2 separate regions of the Homo sapiens genome follow, and region 1 is linked to region 2. The links are contacts of gene promoters, found by promoter capture Hi-C in blood cells and fetal thymus (Javierre and others, 2016). All regions are on one chromosome and are shown on one strand. Each heading gives the region's core, a stretch centred on a gene start or on the middle of the fragment in contact. The rest is flanking DNA. Distances are from core to core; before and after follow the strand shown.

Region 1 (4,259 bases), core at 1,185-3,684, 450 kb after region 2:
TATTTGCAAGTAACATGGGATTTTAAAGAAATCACGTCAGGCTGCAATTTCACGTTTCAAATAAACAGAGCAACAAGTATAACTTTTTTGACAAGTTGCAGTGTAATTTTTATTTTTTATTATTATACTTTAAGTTCTGAGATACATGTGCAGAACGTGCAGATTTGTAACATAGGCATACACGTGCCATGGTGGTTTGCTGCACCCATCAACCCATCATCTACATTAGGTATTTCTCCTTAATGTTATCCCTCCCCTAGTCCCTCACTCCCCGACAGGCCCCGGTGTGTGATGCTCCCCTCCCTGTGTCCACATGTTCTCATTGTTCAACTTCCATTTATGAGTGAGAACATGTGGTGTTTGGTTTTCTCCGCTGGCTTATTTATGTATACAAGTGGGGCATCACATATGCATTTATTTGTGTATTCATTCTGTAGCTGTAATAGGTTCATTGCCTGGATGTTCACAGCAAGTCAATACCCAGAGGCACCAGGTTGCAACAGAGACAGAGGTTTAATGGTAAGGCCAACAAATGAGGAGAAAAGAGAAAACCCCAAATCCATCTTCCCGGGGACTCTGGGGCGAGGGTTTTTAAGAGTTTTGGAGTGAGCCAAAGCATAGAGATTGTTGATTAGTTGAAGAGTACAGGGTGAAGTCCCAGGACAGGGAGAGAAAGAAACTGTACTCTCATGCTCATTTGGTTTGTCTGTGGGAGTCTTTAAATTGGTTGGCGTTAGCAGTTCCACAGTAATTCAGGATCCGTTTAAGCAATTCTTAAACAAAAGCCTCATGGTTCTAACATTAGAATTTCTATCTACAGGAACAATGGGGATGCAAATGGTCAGAATCTAAGGTTATGTGATGTTTAGTTACAAGGAAGTGGGTCAAAGTGCAGCCTGGTTAAAGCTTAATTATAACTACATTTCTGCCCAGAATTCTTAATTCTGTGAGGATGGCTTCAATTCCTTCAACAAGCTTTTATTTAGCACCAACTATATGTAAGACTCTACATAGTCTATTGAAAATAACCTCAGTTTTTATGATCTAAAGGCAAATACATGATAAAGTTTCATACAGTTTTTACATTGTATATTACAATTTACATTGGATAAAAAGTACCTCCCAAGGTGCTTTACGGTGTTTTCACTGGATACCCATTTTAAACAGCCTTATGTGCTGATTCTGGATGATAATTTTAATGTTAAACTTCCCTAGCCTATCTAATATATGACTGAGTAGGCTGACAAATAATAAAATAAATGTTTATCATTTAAAAAATACAAATATATATAATCAGCATCCAATAGAGATAATCCTGGAACAAAAATTAGTACTACAGAATTAGATCCAGGCTAATCAGAATCCAGCAGTGGTGTTATAGGAAAGCACAACAATGAAGTCCTTCTCAGTGTTATTACTCAGAGGCTAGGGGTAAGAAAAAGTCCTTCAGGTGATGTGAAGTTAGGAGAATTTTACTCAGTTCCCCTGTGTGACTATGGAAGGTGTTTTTACAGCTTGCAGAGCTGAAGGAGATAGAACTGAACGCTGGCCAGTGGGAAGACAAGAACTGCTCAAGGGAAAGGAAGGTCTCAGTAGGGAGGAGAACCTGATGAAAGTTTTAGTCATCATTATCATGATTATCTGTCACCTCCAGGGTACACAGGTAACAGTTGCATTAAAGAGGAGATCATTTCTGAGGAGCTAAAGGACAATATAATATTATAACACCAAAGACACAAAGCTGAAGTAGCAGGTTACACAATTATTTGCCAATTTGTCCACAGGGAGACTTTTTAGCTGCACTTTCCAAAGCATTGGCACTCTGAAAACTTAATCATATAAAACTACATTCCCAACATGTAGAATATGTATCATAAAACACTTGCTATACACATATATCCAAACATCTTATGTCCTTATGATAATTTATCTCTGAACTAAAAATCTATTTAGGATCACTATGGATCATTTAAATTATGTTTCATTTTGTCAGAAAAAAAAATCAAATAATAAAGCATTATTTTAACTGGCTTTTACCTTTCAGTTAAATTGAACTTTAACTAAACAATCAAAGAAAAATTATTCCTCTATCAATGTTGATCTAAAAATCTTTCAATTGTAGCTTTTTAACTAGGTCAAGCTCCAAGTCTCCTGACCCTAGATTTATTTATTCATTCATTCAACAGATACCTATACATATCCTGGCCATATCTGGTATTTTGCCTCCTCATCCAAGCCACTATTTATGTCTCTCTCCTGGCTGACCACACAGCTTCCACCTGTACCCACCTCTCTTCCACTCTTTCCACCAGAGCTGGGGGGATCATTTTGAAAAAGCTGATCCAGTCACTCCATTGCTTAAAGGCCTTCAAAGGCTTCCTATTGTCCTTGGAATAAAGACCAAAACCCAGCAAGGTATGGCCTGGCCTGGCCCCCTCTACCCTCTTTCAAATCGTGTGCCCTCTCTCCCCCTCTATCTTCTCCAAACCTACTGGTCTTGTTTACTTTATTTTTGTATATATTTAAGATATACAGCATATGAGGTTTTGATATACATATACTGAGTGACAGCAATACTACAGTCAAGTAAATTCTAACGCCATGCTCCTTCCCACTCTGGCAGCTTCTCACAAACTTTCCCTCTTTACCTAGAATGAGCCTCCACCCCCATTTTGGCCTAGTTAACAATCCTAGTCACCAGTTAGGTCCTAACTCAAATGCCCCTCATTAACCAAGTCAGGTTCTCCTATTCTACCTTCTCATACTATACTGTAGTTATCCTTCACAGCTCTTAGCGCAATTTGCAATTATACATTTATTTGTATGAATATTGAAATAATGTCTGGCTCTACCACTGCATTCTCTCTAAGGGCAGCGGCCATGTCTGTTTTGCCCTCCACTGTAGCCCTGGCATCTAGCACAGTGCATAAAACAGCACATATACCCTACTGCATAGGAGACAATCAATACTTGTTGAATACCTGTGCACAGAATTACGTACAAATGCTAGAATATTCACTCAGTAAAAGCTGGAATAATGCCTGTATTACTCTCCTGGGCTCAAGCAATCTGTCCACCTCAGCCTCCCAAAGTTCTTGGATTACAGGTATAAGCCACTGTGCTTGACCACCTGTATTACTCTCTAGGTACCATTAAAAGCACTCAATAAACACTGGTTGCACAAACATTGAATGGTGGCGATATATTTCTTCTATTATTTTCTTGAAATAGTCATTGAATTTTTATCCACTGATTTATTAACTCTAAATTTTCCAACACTTATCTTTGGAAAGACTGAATGAACAAACCCTACCTTATTAAGGCGCAGAAGCTAAGGAGTGTCCATCACAAAGGAAGCAAAGAGGATGGTTTGCATAGATTCCATTTGAATCTATTTGTTTTGGTTACTCTATTTAAAATATGCTTGCGTCATATGAAATTGAATTCCACTTACTTCCTTCTCCTTAAATCTTAATAAAGGAATTAGGCTGGCTGTTTGAGACTAAAAAATCCATCAAGAAGTTGTTTGCATTTTACTGAGATATTTGTTGAATTCAATATTTCCAGAAAACCCTCAAGATACTTGTCACTCTATAGGGACACAAAATTTTCTTATCTAATATGTACAATCTTTAACTTGACAATTTCACAAGGCATATTGATATAAATCATATTGCTCAATATCTGGTGACTCAGTAGAAAGTGATCTTCAGTTTCAACAAGCAGTCTTTTAATTCATGACGCTTTTTCTTAAGGAAATTAACCTGAGGACTTTTTCCCATACATCTAAAGAGTACTAGAAGTTGCTTTCAAAACATAGAGTAACTTGGTTTCCATGTAGTATTTATAAGAAAAAAAAATCTGTAGATATTCACTTATAAAGGCAAGCTTGGAATCCTCTAATTCGTCATTAAAGTGTGCTTTGTATGTAGGCAATCGCCTAACCATAGATACAAAACTGAGTTATCTTAAAATGGCTGATGGAACACTGGCTTTCCATGAAAATATTCAGTCTGAAAATGTAATACTCCTGCCAATCTAGATCAAAATAGAACTTGTTCTCCCTTAATAACGAGGTGTTCTATCTAAAAAACATTGTGCTCTCTCTCTTTGGTGGTCTAGCAGTTAGGAATAAAAATTAAAAATAAGTAAAATACACTTTTCTCTCAATCAAACTAATATTTACTGGTCACTATGGAAGCAAATGGGAGCGGACTAGTCAGGTATGCAAATAACCTTGCCTCGCCAGGTATAAAGTG
Region 2 (4,260 bases), core at 497-2,996:
AGGTGAAGAGGGTGCCAAGGAGAAGGCATTTTGTAGCTGGGGGTTTGCAAAGTACCCTTCAGCGTTTTCAGTATTTTCAATAATTTGTGAAGCAACCAAAGCAAACAAACACCCACAAAAAACTAACCTGAGACATGACAACGCAGTTGATGAAATCGCCATACTTTGAAGACTTAGGTAATTAGCTAACATATTCAACAGAATGAGTTAGTGGCAGAGCCAGAAATCAAGGCCAGCCCCATCTGGCTCCCCACACCGTGATCTTTCCACTCCGTCATGTGCCTCCAGCGTGAACCGGCCAGAACGTTGGCTGGTGTAGAACACCGGACCTGGTTGGTGATGCGGAGCCAGGACAAGCCCGGAGGAAAAGCAGAAGGGCCAAGAAAGTCCCTCACGAATTCCTCTTGGAAGGGATTGGTTTAACATTAACACCACTTTACAGTGATTTTTTTTATTATCACTGCTGGCGTGTTTTTATTTGTATAGAATTCATATGCTATTGATGCCCTAGGGTGGGTTTGATACTTCCTGATGAAATATTTGGTAGTTTAAAAAATTTCCAAAATTAAAAGACTGTGTTTGAGTGTATTGATAAGTAGAGGTAAGTACTCACACCAGTGTGGTCTAGCTGCTGATTACAGTCACTGGAGTGGGCGGAGGATCCCCAGGATGGGGCCTGGGCAACCTGCTCACGAGCCAGTCTGTTGCCATAGGGGTGTCAGCCTGCAGCCACTATATCAGTGTCGCCTTCTCCCTGCCTCCCCAAAGTCAGGGGGTCTAATAGGTGGTTAAGATCAGGGGTTTGGTGGTCAGACAAAGCTAGGTTTGAATTTTGTTTCTACCCCTTTTCATTTGCATAATTTTGGGAACATGATTTAAACTCTATGAGTTTTGCCACTTCTGTTTTCTTCTTTTCTGTTCTAAAAAAATCTTGAGAGGAACCAATTTGGGGGAGATTTTAAGCTTCCTAAAAGGGCCAATGAAGTTTTATATTTTAATCTTAACTTTGTTTTAAACCTGGTTTCTTCTTTATTTATTACTTTTTTTTAGTTTTGCCACTTCTAACATAGTGATGACAATTATACTTACTGAAGTCATTGTGAGGATCCAGTGAAAAATGCAGCCAAGGACTTGATCTAGTAACTATGCAATAAATGAAAGCCATTTCTATTGTTATTATTAGTAATAGTACTAGTAAACAAGTTTCAGGAATGATAAATGGGAAGGTTTTAAAAAGAGGTAGAGGCACTTAAGTGTCCCTGGGTTCCTTGGACTAATTTTCCATTTCCCGTCTTGACATCCTCTCCCCAAACTGGGTCAAGGCTTCATTTCTGATTGAATGGTGCAAAGCTGCATTCCTGGAGGAACAGCAGGGCCACTCTGGCTTGGCAGAGGCCTCCTGATGAAAGGTTAGTGCCAGGAAAGGCCTGCTTCAGTGAGGCTGGAGAGCAACCTGTAAAAGAGACAGCTCATCCAAGAGCAGGAGCAGTGTCAACGAATCCAAATGCAGCGCAGAAAACTCCCGACTCAACAGACACCTTTTCAAAGTTGAAACATCTCCCAGGCTCCTGAAGCCTGCTAATCAGATGTTTGCATGCAAATGAGTAAAAACAATAACAAGGAAAGATGCTGCATGGCGTGCCAACACCCCTAGTGAAGGACTATAAAAGCCCCTCTGTATCGGATGTCTTTCCAATGCAGGTATACTGAGCTTGCAACTTCCCAGCAAGGTCAGCACCAGCACCATGGCAGACGGCTGTTGTCCTGGAAACACCACAGCCATTCCAGCTGTGCCCACCATCACCACATACCCAGTTAAAGGTGGATTTCGACATGCTCTCTGTTTGCCTAGTTCCTGCCACAGCAGAATGTGGCAACTGGTCACATGCCAAGAAAGCTGTCAGCCATCCATTGGTGCCCCAAGTGGCTGTGATCCTGCTTCGTGTCAACCTACCCGCCTTCCAGCAACGTCTTGTGTGGGTTTTGTTTGCCAACCTATGTGCTCCCACGCAGCCTGCTATCAGTCTGGCACTGGTCAGTCTCCTTGTCTGGTTAGCTCATGTCAGCCATCCTGCTCGGAATCTACTTGTTGTCAGGAAAAGTGCTGCGATGCCAGTCCCTGCCAGCAAAGCTCCTGCCAGGAATCTGTCTGCATGTCTGGATCATGTCAGGCAGCTTGTGGCCAATCAGTCTGCTGTGATGCTGGATCCTGCCAGCCATCCTGCTCTGAAGTGACCTCCTGTCCGGAAACTTCTTGCCTACCAACCATCTGTACAGCTAGTCCATGCCAACCAACTTGGTGCCAAGGAAGTTCATGTCAACCCGTCAGTGGTGAAGGCCAGCCCTGTAAATCAACTTATTATCAACCCATCTGCTATATTTTCAAGCCTTGCCAATCAGCCCTCTACATGCCTGTTCCCTGCCAGCCATCGACTTGTGTGTTCAGTTCTTGCAATACTACTTGCTGTGTGCCTTCCCATTGCCAGCCACCTCACTGCCAACTGGTTCCTTCCACATGCTTCATCTACCAGCCAGTGGCTAACTGCCAGGCCCCTTGTTCCACAAAGAACTGTTGCAAACCAGCTTCTTGTGACACTGTGATTTCTGGCCAACCAACTTGTGATGGACCCCCTTCCTATAACCAGAGTGGCTGCAAATCAGCTTGCTGTGTGACTGGTTTAGGCACATCACCCAGTAGTGGCTCCAATTGCTTGCCGACTTCATGCCAACCCAGCTGTGAGTCCAGCTTCTGCAAGGCAACACTTTGTTAATGGAGCCCTCTTCACACCTCCTCTGAGGGTCTGCGGCTGTCTATAAATGCATAGCCATCCCTGGGTGCCTGCCTCCCACCGAGTACAAATGCTGCCTGCTTTCTAACTTTACCCTGATTCCACCTTCACATTCTCTCCAGGTGCTGACCAGGGAACTTGTCCAGGCACGAAGAGATCCTTCTTAACCGAGAATAACCTTTCAGCAACCATGGACTACCACACTGCTGCTTGCATTTCCTGATGATGTCAATTCATTTCACTTTAGCAAACCCTCTCTTGTTTCTCTTTCTTGATGCTGCCTGGTCTTTCAGAAGACCTCGTTGCTGCCAGCTGCTAATAAAAATGTGACTGGTTAAGTATAATAAATAAGACTCCTGGAGTGCTTTCATTCCTACACACACCTCTATGTAGATTTCCTTCAGGTCACATTTGAACACAATGAGCCTGAGTCATCTAAGTCAGTGGGTCTGCATTGGTCTGCAAGGGTAGCTAGTGTCTAGGATTATAGATTCTCCAGCTGGACGAGAGTAAGGGCAAACAGTTCACTGGCTTCCAAAATTTTCACCACCAAGAGTTCTTTTGAGCTGAGTGGGCTCATTTTCCCTATAGTGAGTAGACAGGAAGCCAACAACAAAAATGGTTCTGGAAAGCCACAGATGAAAACAAACATGAGGTATTGGCCATAGAGAATAGCTTAGGGTTAATTCATTTAAGATTCTTTTTTTTTTTTTTTTTTTTTTGACACAGAGTTTCACTCTTGTTGCCCAGGCTGGAGTGCAAGAGCGTGATCTCGGCCCACCGCAACCTCTGCCTCCTGGGTTCAAGCGATTCTCCTGCCTGGGACATTGTGTCAGCTGGCTAAGGAGAAATATTCATAGGATCCCTTTGTATTATCATAGAGCAGGCAATGAAGGGTGTACCTGTAGGTGAGCAGCAATAATTTGGTAACTAGCAAACAAATCTTCATAGTTCACATTTTTCTGTCACTGAGGTATACTTTGGATCTGTAGAGAGACTATTAATTGTTTTATCCCCAGTTTTAGAATCACAAGGGTCGTAGTCTTGAAAGAAGGTTCTGGGTCAAAAAAGAGGGGGATGGCCATAAGAACAAAATCTAGCACCTGAACATGGAAGGGTCCAGGTGGAGAATTTCTACCTGCAGTTGAATTGACTAATGTCAGCACTGAATCTCTTCTTGAATTGAATTCAAGAAGCATTGAATGCTTCTTGAATCCCTAGATATAGGTGGGCTTATCATTTCAACAGTTCAAGTAGCTAGATCTGTTCTAGTCTTCTAATGGGTATTTTCCTTTTATTTCTAACTATGTATGGGTATTGCCTTCAGTACCTTTTCTACCCACACACATGCACACACATATAGATGCATACAGGTACACACACACACACTCAGATACAGATGCACACACATACATGCACACACACACTCACACACAGACACACACCACATTTCAACTTAGTTGTATGGCTG

What was found. The method cuts DNA at HindIII sites, captures the fragments that hold promoters and counts their contacts. A CHiCAGO score of 5 or more calls a contact.
Region 1: a contact is called between a fragment that was not itself captured here and the fragment with the promoter of KRTAP29-1 in region 2, in 3 of 17 cell types (endothelial precursors, M1 macrophages and M2 macrophages). The highest score is 6.8, in endothelial precursors.

The regions. Positions count from the first base shown.
Region 1 is chr17:40,849,915-40,854,173 of GRCh38, reverse strand. LOC105371777 (a long non-coding RNA gene) reads right to left here and starts at 3,376. Exons shown (of 3, transcript XR_934754.3): 1 at 3,314-3,376. The HindIII fragment of the contact is 2,913 bases long and covers 978-3,890 here.
Region 2 is chr17:41,300,337-41,304,596 of GRCh38, reverse strand. It overlaps KRTAP29-1 (keratin associated like protein 29-1), which reads left to right and starts at 1,746. Exons shown (of 1, transcript NM_001257309.1): 1 at 1,746-2,771. The coding sequence starts at 1,746. The coding sequence ends at 2,771. The HindIII fragment of the contact is 6,603 bases long and covers 966-4,260 here.